Regions from separate parts of the Homo sapiens genome. Here all the other regions are linked to region 2. The links are contacts of gene promoters, found by promoter capture Hi-C in blood cells and fetal thymus (Javierre and others, 2016). All regions are on one chromosome and are shown on one strand. The core of a region is centred on a gene start or on the middle of the fragment in contact, and the rest is flanking DNA. Distances in the headings are between cores, read along the strand shown. Region 1 holds the start of RETSAT (retinol saturase). Region 2 holds the start of C2orf68 (chromosome 2 open reading frame 68). Region 3 overlaps POLR1A (RNA polymerase I subunit A). Region 4 overlaps POLR1A (RNA polymerase I subunit A).

What was found. The method cuts DNA at HindIII sites, captures the fragments that hold promoters and counts their contacts. A CHiCAGO score of 5 or more calls a contact.
Region 1: a contact is called between the fragment with the promoter of RETSAT here and the fragment with the promoter of C2orf68 in region 2, in 1 of 17 cell types (erythroblasts). The highest score is 5.0, in erythroblasts.
Region 3: a fragment that was not itself captured here is called in contact with the fragment with the promoter of C2orf68 in region 2 in 3 of 17 cell types (M0 macrophages, erythroblasts and M2 macrophages); the score reaches 5.8 in M0 macrophages.
Region 4: a fragment that was not itself captured here is called in contact with the fragment with the promoter of C2orf68 in region 2 in 1 of 17 cell types (neutrophils); the score reaches 6.1 in neutrophils.

Annotation. Positions count from the first base shown.
Region 1 is chr2:85,353,278-85,355,977 of GRCh38, reverse strand. RETSAT (retinol saturase) reads left to right here and starts at 1,450. Exons shown (of 11, transcript NM_017750.4): 1 at 1,450-1,642. The coding sequence starts at 1,471. ELMOD3 (ELMO domain containing 3) reads right to left here and starts at 1,209. Exons shown (of 14, transcript NM_001135022.2): 1 at 1,149-1,209; 2 at 808-902; 3 at 380-423. RefSeq lists enhancers at 753-812, 447-946, 983-1,382, 947-1,448. The HindIII fragment of the contact is 19,367 bases long and covers 1-2,700 here.
Region 2 is chr2:85,610,553-85,613,357 of GRCh38, reverse strand. It overlaps C2orf68 (chromosome 2 open reading frame 68), which reads left to right and starts at 1,292. Exons shown (of 4, transcript NM_001013649.4): 1 at 1,292-1,480; 2 at 1,572-1,690. The coding sequence starts at 1,374. It also overlaps a transcript of USP39 not described here. RefSeq lists silencers at 792-964, 1,451-1,520, 1,140-1,521 and an enhancer at 951-1,180. The HindIII fragment of the contact is 26,854 bases long and covers 1-2,795 here.
Region 3 is chr2:86,062,474-86,065,384 of GRCh38, reverse strand. It overlaps POLR1A (RNA polymerase I subunit A), which reads left to right. Exons shown (of 34, transcript NM_015425.6): 14 at 1-111. Among named protein-coding and RNA genes, the nearest start is that of POLR1A, 42 kb to the left of the region's middle. The HindIII fragment of the contact is 7,905 bases long and covers 1-2,911 here.
Region 4 is chr2:86,040,701-86,043,400 of GRCh38, reverse strand. It overlaps POLR1A (RNA polymerase I subunit A), which reads left to right. Exons shown (of 34, transcript NM_015425.6): 23 at 206-427; 24 at 1,298-1,512. Among named protein-coding and RNA genes, the nearest start is that of POLR1A, 64 kb to the left of the region's middle. The HindIII fragment of the contact is 5,837 bases long and covers 1-2,700 here.

The sequences.
Region 1 (2,700 bases), core at 201-2,700, 260 kb after region 2:
GAGGTCAGCCCTCCAGGATGCCATAAAAACTGGCTGCTGGTGTCAGGATGCTTTGATTATTAACACTGAGAGGAAGAATACCTCCTGGCTCTTGGGCTTGACATGTGGCTCACTGTAATCCGGGGGACAGGGCAATGCCCCCTTAGTCCTGGCACCCCAGGAACTAAACTGCTCTCACTGTGGCCTCTGGGGCCTCAACATCTGCCTCCCCTTTCCTTTTCCTCCATCATGGCCTCCATGACAGCCTATGACAAAACACACATTGGCCAGCCTTGGCAAGGTGACAGGCGGGTATGGTAATAGCAATCTCAGGAGGGCTCTTCTGTTGCTGTGTAGAAAATGAACCAAGTAGCATAGAATCGTGACCAGCTTTCCACACCTGGCTGGAGCACTCCTGGGGCCTTCAGTAGGGACAGTTACTATCTGTAGCAGAGAAGAAAAGAGCAACAATTCCATTAAACAAGGAAGTACTCAAAGGCAAATTCCTGATAGTTGGACCTAAGGAAACGGCCTTCCTGTAAAAATGGATCCTTCTCCAATCAAGTATTCATTATGCACCCTCTTTAGGCAAGGAGGGGGTATGATTCTTCAACTGCTTGCTGGAGGTTAGATTCTCTGCATAGGAATTTAAATTAGATGGGCCCTTAGCTGATCCTTTCACCATGCTTGTCCATGGGCGGCTCCCCGTCCCCCAGGTTCCCCACGGATGGGGTGTCATTAGGGACCCGCCATAGAGGACTCCGTCCCAGGCGGGCCCCCAGGACAAAACTATGGGCCACTTTGAGGGGCACAGAGACAGACGCTCACCGGTTGTGATGCGCAGGTAACAGAGAGCTCAATTCATCATGACAACCAGTCAGACAGGGGCTGTGAGCAGCCTTTGGACAGAACTTTCGCATAGCCTGGAGGCGTAAGACGAGGAAAGCAATTTAACACCTCAAGGCAGCGAGTCCAGGGCAGAGCCAGGACCAGAACTCAGGACTCCTGTCTCCCAGTCGGGATTCTCTTTCAGTCTTACAACTCTCGGCCTTGTCTCGCCCCATAGTGATAATTTCCACCGGATCACATTCTCCCTCCCTCCTCAGGCCGGCTGCTAGCTCCGCACAGGCACCAACCACTCCCCTTGGCAAGTGTTAACGCGTTCTCACCGTTAAAAGAGCTTTCCAAACTTGGGGGTCCCGCCGCCTCGGCTAGGCCTCATCTGCTCATGCGCACAGCCGCTTCCGTGCCGGCTCCCCTGGCCCCGAGAACTACATTTCCCAGTAGGCAATGGAAACCCAAAAGAAGTACGGAGAGCCGGGAGGGTCAATCATCACCTGAGAGTTGGCTCTTCGCTGGCTGGCTGGTTAATCAGTGCTCAAAGCTGCCTCCGCCTCCTGACTGGAGAGCGAACTAGCCCGGGCGGAGCCACAGTCCTAGAGGCTGAGCGCAGTCGGAGCTGTCCCATTTACCCGACCCGACGCCGGCGTGATGTGGCTTCCGCTGGTGCTGCTCCTGGCTGTGCTGCTGCTGGCCGTCCTCTGCAAAGTTTACTTGGGACTATTCTCTGGCAGCTCCCCGAATCCTTTCTCCGAAGATGTCAAACGGCCCCCAGCGCCCCTGGTAACTGACAAGGAGGCCAGGAAGAAGGTTCTCAAACAAGGTAGCAGGAGGGACCCTGGGGTCCGGGGCTGCACTCGAGGCTTTCTCACAGATTTGGGTTCTCATTTTGCCAAGGCAGCCGCTACCAGACGTGGGCCTTAGTTTCCCCATATGTAAAGTACTAGGAGGGCTTCCTTGCACGTGGAGGAGCCCCGCTTTAGTGTGCAACACTGTCGATAGCCTTTGCCCTAGTAGGCCCCGGGAATAGTAGTCCCAAGGGTGTGGTCATTGTCCTTGGTTTGCAAGGTGTTGGCACCCGCCCTGCCACTTGTAATCCCCGTGGCTCGTGGAACTGATAATCCCCGTGACTCATTCCTCCACTTGGTTCCAGGACCTTAACTTTTTCACCTACCCTCCCATGCGAGCTCAGGGGTGTGGGGGAGCAGCACAGAAATGCGTAGGAAATTGCGTTTTGCCCGTCCGGTGATTTAACAGGCTTTGCATGGTCCCAAATCGTAAGGATTGAACCCTAGTTCTGAAACATTGGCAGAGGTTCAACAAGGCGCCTCAGGCTCAGAGCCTGCTCTCCACTCTCATCTTTAAAACATATTTTGTGGTTGCTTCTAGAGTTTAAAGAGTTCTGCTGCTTTAAAAAATAATGGATCACCTGTTTGATCTACGGAGTCCCTCTCACTTGTAAATTTTAGAATTCTCCGTGTCATATCTTGCTACACAATCGGAGACAGTACTGTTCTAAGTGGAAGGACTAATCATCTGGACTTCTGAGAACTGAGTTTTAGCTTGGACTCTGTCACTAATTTGCTGCATAACCATTAGCACCTACCTGGGCTGGTCTAAAAATGAGATGACTAGCTTAACTGCTTTTCAAACCGGATTGTGATCTATTAGTGGGCTATGAAATCAATTTAGTGAGTTGCAACTGGCATTATTTATTTATTTATTGAAACAGAGTCTCGCTCTATTGTCCATGCTAGAGTGCAGTGGCGCGATCTCCGCTCACCGCAACTTCCGCCTCCTGGGTTCAAGTGATTATCCTGCCTCAGCCTCCCGAGTAGTGGGCATGCCCAGCTAATTTTTGTATTTTTAGTAGAGACAGGG
Region 2 (2,805 bases), core at 43-2,542:
TGTATTTTTTTTTAGTAGAGACGGGGTTTCACCATTTTGGCCAGGCTAGTCTCGAACTCCTGACCTCTTGATCTGCCCGCCTGGGCCTCCCAAAGTGCTGGGATTACAGGCGTGAGCCACCACGCCCGGCTCTTTCTTTCTTTTTTAATGTATTTTTTTCTTGTAGAGACGATGTCTCGCTGTGTTGCCCAGGCTGGTCTCAAATTCCTCCCTCCAGCGATACTCCCACTTCGGCATCCCAAAGTTTTGGAATTACAGACATGAGCCACTGCATCCAGCCGTTTGTCCCTGTCCTAATCATGAATTCCTGATTTTGACTTTTGTAAAAGGACTTGAGAATTTTACACGCTGTGACGTGAACCCAGTGGTCAGAAAAAATAGAAAAAAAAAAAAAAGGGGCCGGGCACGGTGGCTCATGCCTGCAATCCCAACACTTTGGGAGGCCGAGGCAGGCGGATCACCTGAGGTCAGGAGTTCGAGACCAGCCTGGCCAACGTGGTGAAACCTTATCTCTACCAAAAATACAAAACTTAGCCGGGCGTGGTGGCACGCGCATGTAGTCCCAGCTACTCGGGAGGCTGAGGCAGGAGAATCGCTTGAACCCGGGAGGCGGAGGTTGCAGTGAGCCGAAATCACGCCAATGCACTCCAGCCTGAGCGACAGAGTGAGACTCCTTCTCAAAAAGAAAAAAAAAAGGAAAAATAAATAAAAAAGAAAATAATACACCCGTAGGTCCCTCAAAAACCCTGGGTCCTCCCGCGGGGACAGTTAAGCCATCGGCGCCGTGAGCAGGAGGCAAGCCGGGCCAGGAGAGCCTTCGCGGCGCCTGCGGCCTGGGCGCCGCTGTTGCCCTGCCTGAGCACTTCAAGGCCTCACAATCCATTTGAGGTAGGTGCTCTAGGTGTTCCCATTTACTAATGAGGAAACTGAGAAGTGGCAGCGTTACACAGTCAGCCAAAGTCACGCAGATGGCGATGGATTGCACAGCATCCTATTACCAGAAAAAAGATGGGAAGGCACCGCCGTAAGCATCGAGTTGTGTTATAGATGATTTGCATTTTTCTGAAGGTTCTGGTATCAGCTGTAAGCCGAAGTCCTTGTTTCCTATTGATATGTTACGAAAAAACAAACAAAAAAAAACAAAAACAAAAGCCCTCCGTCCGGGGGGTGGAAGTCAAGCATACCCTACTCCACCCGACCCGACCAGACCCGAAAACTCCGTGCGCTGCATCGCTTGGCCAGGCCGGGGCCTCCCAGACCGGAAGTCAGGATGCGGGGCCGGAAGCTGAGCAAGGGGCGGCGCGGAGCTCTGTGGGCGGGTGGCTGTTGTTGGGGCCGTCGAGGCGGCGGCGACTCTGCGTCCCCGGCTCCTGATGGAGGCGGGGCCGCATCCCCGGCCGGGGCACTGCTGCAAGCCTGGGGGGCGGCTGGACATGAACCACGGCTTCGTGCACCATATCCGACGGAACCAGATCGCTCGGTACCGCCCCGCCCTGCGCCGCCGCCGCCACCACTCCTGGCCTGGCCTGGCCCGGCCCGACAGTCCCTGACTCCCGCTCGGCTCCCCGCAGGGACGACTATGACAAGAAGGTGAAGCAGGCGGCCAAGGAGAAGGTGAGGAGGCGGCACACGCCCGCGCCGACGCGGCCCCGCAAGCCAGACCTGCAGGTGTACCTGCCGCGACACCGAGGTGAGGCCGCCCGCCCCGCCTGCCTCCAGCCCGCGCGCTCTTCCTGCAACGCACTCCCCTTCTCTATAGGGAAAAACCACTTCTTACTCCTAAGGTTCAGCTCATCTCGTCTCTTTCCGGAACCTCCACCTCAGCGCTCCCAAATCTCCGCTGAATGATTCTCACCAAGAACTGGGACGACTCATAAGCCCCCAGTTAAGCATCGCTGTCAGAGTATCGGGGAGCCAGCAAGAAGTTTATCTGCCGGTTTGCCCCACCGTGCTGTATTTTAGTAAGGTGCTCCGCTACCTAGCAAAGAGAAAGTCTGGCACAGCGATGAGCGACCAGCACATAATTGCGGAATGAACCCAGTAAATGGCCTTTCCCCAGCTTCTCTGCTACCTAGAGATCACACTGGTTAATATATGACGGTCAATTTTTGTTAAGCATTATTACTTTTTTTAAAATGTTTTTATTTTATTTTTGAGACTAGGTCTCTGTCGCCCAGGCTGGAGTGCAATGGTGCGATCTGGGCTTACTGCAGCCTTAGCCTCCCGAGTACCTGGGACCACAGGCGTGTGCCACCACACCGGTTAATTTTGGTATTTCTTGTAGAGAAGGGGTTTCCCCGGCTGGGCGCGGTGGCTCTCGCCTGTAATCCCAGCACTTTGGGAGGCCGAGGCGGGCGGATCACGAGGTCAGGAGATCGAGACCATCCTGGCTAACATGGTGAAACCCCCGTCTCTACTAAAAATACAAAAAATTAGCCGGGCGTGGTGGTGGGCGCCTGTAGTCCCAGCTACTCGGGAGGCTGAGGCAGGAGAATGGCGTGAACCCGGGAGGCGGAGCTTGCAGTGAGCCGAGATCGCGCCACTGCACTCCAGCCTGGGCAACACAGCAAGACTCGGTCTCAAAAAAAAAAAAAAAAGAGAGAGAGAGAAGGGGTTTCTCCACGTTGTCCAGGCTGATCTCGAACTCCTGAGCTCAGGTGATCTGCCCGCATCGGCCTCCCAAAGTGCTGGGATTATAGGTGTGTGCCACTACCTTTGTTAGGCATTAGTGAAAGTGCTTTTAGATCTTACGTATATTAATTCATTGAGTCTTTATACAACCTCATAAGAAAGCTTCTGTCTGTT
Region 3 (2,911 bases), core at 164-2,663, 450 kb before region 2:
CGGGAGCACTATATGGAGCTGGTGTACCGAGGACTCACGGACAAAGTGGGGCGCGTGAAGCTCCTTTCTCCTTCCATCCTGAAGCCCTTTCCGCTGTGGACAGGAAAACAGGTAATTGGGAGAGAACAGCCAGTGTATGTAACAAAAGGAAATAGGCCACTCATGTAAAAGGTTTTATTCTCAGAAGAGTCCAGACCAGAGACAGAGAAATGGCTAAGCCAGCAATAGTCTGACTTTCTTTCCCCTTTGTTTGGGGTTCCTGAGTCTGGGTGGCTTCAAGGGAGTGTCTAGCAAGAGTAGACTGCATAGTAGCCTGGTGCAGTGGCTCACACCTGTAATCCCAACACTTTAGGAGACTGAGGCGGGCAGATCACCTGAGGTCTGGAGTTTGAGACCAGCCTGGCTAACATGGTGAAACCCTATCTCTACTAAAAGTACAAAATTAGCTGGGCGTGGGATTAGTGCCTGTAATCTCAGCTACCGGGAGGCTGAGGCAAGAGAATCGCCTCAGCCTGAGGCAAGAGAATCGCTTGAACCCAGGAGGTGGAGGTTGTAGTGAGTCAGGATCAGCCACTGCACTCCTGCCTGGGCAACAGAGTGAGACTCCGTCTCCACAAAAAAAAAAAAAGTAGACTGCATAGTTTCTGTCCTTTGCTTCTAACTTAAATTTGGTGTCCTCATAATACAAATATGGTGGTAATAGGCAGTGGTGCTGGTGGAGTAATAGTAATATTTGTTGGGAAGTTCCATATGTTTGCTGAGTGCTTTAGACACATTATCTGATTTAATACTCACGACTAATCTGCAATGCAGACACCATTATTATCTCCATTTAGGAGATGATAAATTACATGCCCAAGACTACAGGAGACAGATCAAACCCAGGACTTTTCAACCCCAGAAGCATCATACCATACTTCCTCTCAAAGTAACCAAATTACATGATATGTGGCGACCAAATAATGAAAAACAGTAAAATATGTTCTTCTGCTGTTGCCTGAGTATCCAAGTTCAGCCTTAAGGATCAACTTCTAATTGGCTATGTGATCTTAGCCCTGTGTGTCTCAGTTCCTCATCATTTCCTGGGACAGTAGAAATTAACTTGCTAAGCTAAGTTCTGATTCTAAACATGGTTTTTCTCTTTGAAACCAGACTAACCCACAAACAAATTCTTGCATAGTGTAGTCACTCTTGCCCTTTTCACCTGTTGGCAAAAAAAAAGCCCGTACCAACCTTTAGAGACACACTAAAAAATCTCACCCGTGACAGAAGCAAAACCTGGACCTATTTCCTAATTTTATTTGGTACAGAGGATTTTAAAAGGATTCAAGATGTGGCCTCTGGGCATAATGGAATTTGGAAATCAGCAACCAAGATATTTGGAAAAGCCCTCAATATTTGTACTTCTAAATAACGTACTTCTTAAATAGCTCATGGGTCAAAAGAATCTAAAGGGAAATTAGAAAGCATTCTGAAGTAGATGAAATGAAAACACAACAAAATTTGTGGGATGCCACTGAAGCAGAACTTAAGGGGGAAATTTATACATAAAATGCCTAGGTTGAAAAGAAGAAAAAGGGTCCCAAATCAATGACTTCAGCTTCAAGTTCATGATCTCTAAGGTCTCTTCCTGCTCTCCAGTTCTTAGTCTGTGGACCTGGAACTTGATTTTCCTTTTTAAGCCAACCTTGCATTCCTGGATAAACCTTCCTTGGTCGTGAGGTATTATCCTTTTTATATATTATTGAATTCAATTTGCTAATATTTTGTCTAGAATTTTTTTACTTCTGTGTTTGTGATAGATATTGGTCTGTAGTTTTATTTTCTTATAATATGTTTGTTTGGTTTTGGTATCAGGGTAATCCTGGCCTCACAGAATGAGGTGTTAGGAGGTATTTCCTCTGGTTTTCTGTAAGAGTTTGTGTAGTACAGTATTCATATTATTTATTCCTTAAATGTGTTGTAGAATTCACCAGTGAAGGCATCTGGGCCTAGAGTTTCTTTGTGGCAAGGTTTTCTTTCTTTTTTTTTTTTTTTTTTTTTTTTTTTGAGATGGAGTTTTGCTCTTGCTGCCCAGGCTGGAATGCAATGGTGTGATCCTGGCTCACCGCAACCTCCACCTCCCAGATTCAAGCAATTCTCCTGCCTCAGCCTCCCAAGTAGCTGGGATTACAAGCATGCGCCACCATGCCCGGCTAATTTTGTATTTTTAGTAGAGATGGGGTTTCTCCATGTTGGTCAGGCTGGGCTCGAACTCCCAACCTCAGGTGATCCACCAACCTTGGCCTCCCAAAGTGCTGGGACTACAGGCCTGAGCCACCGCGCCCAACCTGTGGGAAGATTTTCAATTAAAATTTCTATTTCTTTAGTAGACATAGAGCTATTTTTGGTTATCTACTTCTTGAATGAGCTTTAATTGTTTGTGTTTTTCAGGGAATTTGTCCATTTCATCTAAGTTACTGAATTTATAGGCACAAAGTTGTTCATAATGCTCCTTTGTTGACCTTTTCTATCTGTATTGCCTGTAGTGGTGTCACTTCTCTCATTCCTGACATTGATAATTTGTGTCTTCTCTTTTTTCCTGATCAGTTTGCCTAGAGGTTTATCAGTTTTATTCTCAAAAAAAAGTCTTTGGTTTTATTGACTTTATTTTTCTGTTTTCTGTTTCGTTGATTTGAACTTTATCACTCCCTTTCTTCTGTTTACTTTGGTTTAATTTGCTCTTTTTTTTTTCCTAGTTCTTTAAGTTCTTTAAGTCAATTTGAGACCCCTTTTCTTCTTTCAATGTAGGCATTTTATGTATAAATTTCCCCCTTAAGTTCTGCTTAAGTAGCATCCCACAAATTAATATGTTGTGTTTTCATTTCATCTACTTCAGAATACTTTCTAATTTCCCTTTTGATTTTTTTTT
Region 4 (2,700 bases), core at 75-2,574, 430 kb before region 2:
CCAAATCTGGTTTGCACAAAGTGAGGGCCCTGATTAACAATGGATGCTCAGCCTCTCTGAGAGTGGTGCTCGGCCCCATCATGAGGGCTCCACACCAGCCACCTGGGTCCCCTGAATTTGTGCTCCATGGCCCTCTTGTCACGCCCTCATCTCTTTGATCTCATGTGTGTGATTTGTTTGTTTGTTTTTTTGTTTGTTTGTTTAGGTGATAATGAAATCACAGCATCTCCATGAAGTTTTATCCAGAGCAGATCCCAAAAAAGCTCTCCACCACTTCAGAGCTATCAAAAAATGGCAAAGCAAGCACCCCAACACCCTGCTGAGAAGAGGCGCCTTCTTGAGTTATTCCCAGAAAATTCAGGAAGCTGTGAAAGCCCTGAAACTTGAGAGTGAAAACCGCAATGGCCGCAGCCCTGGGACTCAGGAGGTGATGCAGGGAGGTGGTGTCCTTAATGTCCAGCACGTCCAGGCTTAGTCAGTGGGTGAGGGATGAGGGGCTGTTTTCCTAAGAGAAGGTAGAATCATGAACTCCAGCTTTGTTCACCGTCAGTCAGAACAGAATGGCTCTCAAATGGGAATGTAAGGTGGGGACTCTTAACAAGGGTGTAGGCAGGGTTTGGGGGGACTAACTGGGGCCTGTGACTTCGGGGTTCCCCGCGATCCCAGGTGTGAAGGAATGGGGAGCAGTCATGAGAAACGGAGAGGACGACTATGTGCTAGGGCCACTGGACAGAGCCCTGGGTAGAGACCCACTAGAGGGGGGTTGAGGATAAATACCAGGATCCCCTTCCTCCTGCCTTTCCCTCTGCTGCTGGTGCCTCCCATCAGCCAAGCACACCTGGGAGCTGGAAGCAGGGGATCTCTTTGAAGCAGTCACTTTGGGACAGCCTTGAGGGCACAGAGCGTGTGAAAGAGCCTGGATCCAGAAATAACCATGGATCCAGCACAGTGACTGCATCCTAGCTGGCCTGAGACAGTCGTGGCTTTGCCTCTTGTCCTAGCCTAATCATAACAGTCTCCTGTTTCACTCTAAAAGAAGCCCAGTTTGCTCAGTAAATTACATGCTTGCCCTCCCTGGGCTTGAATGGGCCAGGATGAAGAGCTGCTAGGCTTATAGTCAAGCAGGGTGCCCTAGGACAGGTTGAAGTCTCTCCCCATTTTAAATGGGGAGATGGTTTCTCATTGCAATCAGGTTTCTTTCTGTCTCCCTTTATTCTCATTGGAAGCCAATGCTTTTGATCCCTCTTATGCTACTGGGTATCCCTCCCACATAGCTGAGACCCATCCTTCTGTTCAGATGCTGAGGATGTGGTATGAGTTGGATGAGGAAAGCCGAAGGAAATACCAGAAGAAGGCGGCCGCTTGTCCTGACCCCAGTCTGTCTGTCTGGCGTCCTGACATCTACTTTGCATCAGTGTCAGAAACATTTGAAACAAAGGTTGATGACTACAGTCAAGAGTGGGCAGCTCAAACAGAGAAGAGTTATGAGAAATCAGAGCTTTCTCTCGACAGGTATTGACAGTGATTTGTTGCACAACATGTGCAGGAGAATCTGCCTCCTAGCCCCTGCCTCCTAGCCCCTGCCCTACTCACTCCGGAAGAGGGCTGCCTCCTGGGTTTGAGACTTCAGCTAGAGGGAGGGCAGTAAGACAGCCAGGGGCAACGCACAAGCCCCAAGGGCCCAGGAGTGAACAAGTGCAAGGGAGGCAGGAGTGGACACCCCCATCTGGGCCAAGATAGGGATAGTGGTCTGCTGGGAGGCTTGCAGGAAAGTCTGCTCTCTTGGGTTTGGTGTGGTGGGTGGGGCTGACTGAGAGTCAGGGAATCTGGTCACTGTTCACCTGCTGCCAACCGTGTGACCCAGGGCAGGTCATTCATGCCCAGGGACACCAGGTCTTAACTTCTCATGAGGCCTTGGATCCGATTACTCCAGTAATCCTTTGAGCTTTGGGTTCCCATTTGAAGGCCTCAGCTTGGACTAGGACAGACACACACACACACACACACACAGACACTGTAGCTCAGCGCGCGCGCGCACACACACACACACCTTTGAGCTTTGGGTTCCCATTTGAAGGCCTCAGCTTGGACTAGGACAGACACACACACACACACACAGACACTGTAGATCAGCACACACACACACACACACACAGACACTGTAGCTCAGCACACACACACACACACACAGACACTGTAGCTCAGCGCGCACACACACACACACACACACACACACACACACACACACACAGTGTAGCTCAGCGCTCCTAGTGGCTGTTCTTAACAGGGTCAGGCTTCATAGGAAAAATGGTTAGTAAATTACAGAATCGTGCGGCATGAATACTTCTGATGTGGTCTGCAGCCATTTGCACTAACTAAAAATATAAACACTCTCATCACCCCCATCCCCATAATGGCCTAGTGAACCTCTTTCTAATTTTTATAGCAGGAGGTTTAAACTGTCTCCAAATTGTCATAATTGAGAAGAAAGAATGGATAAAGGAAAAAGTGAATAATGAACCCAGAAATTCTCCTGCTTAGGGGGCTTGTGGTAACAGTCCCAGAGTGGATATGTGACATTCTGGGGGCAAACATGAGGAGTCCAAGCATGAATGTCTAGAGCTTCAGCCACCCAGCTGGGATCTGTGCTGTGTAATTTGAGGACATCTCAGGGTCACTGGTGGGAATTTGAAGATTAGA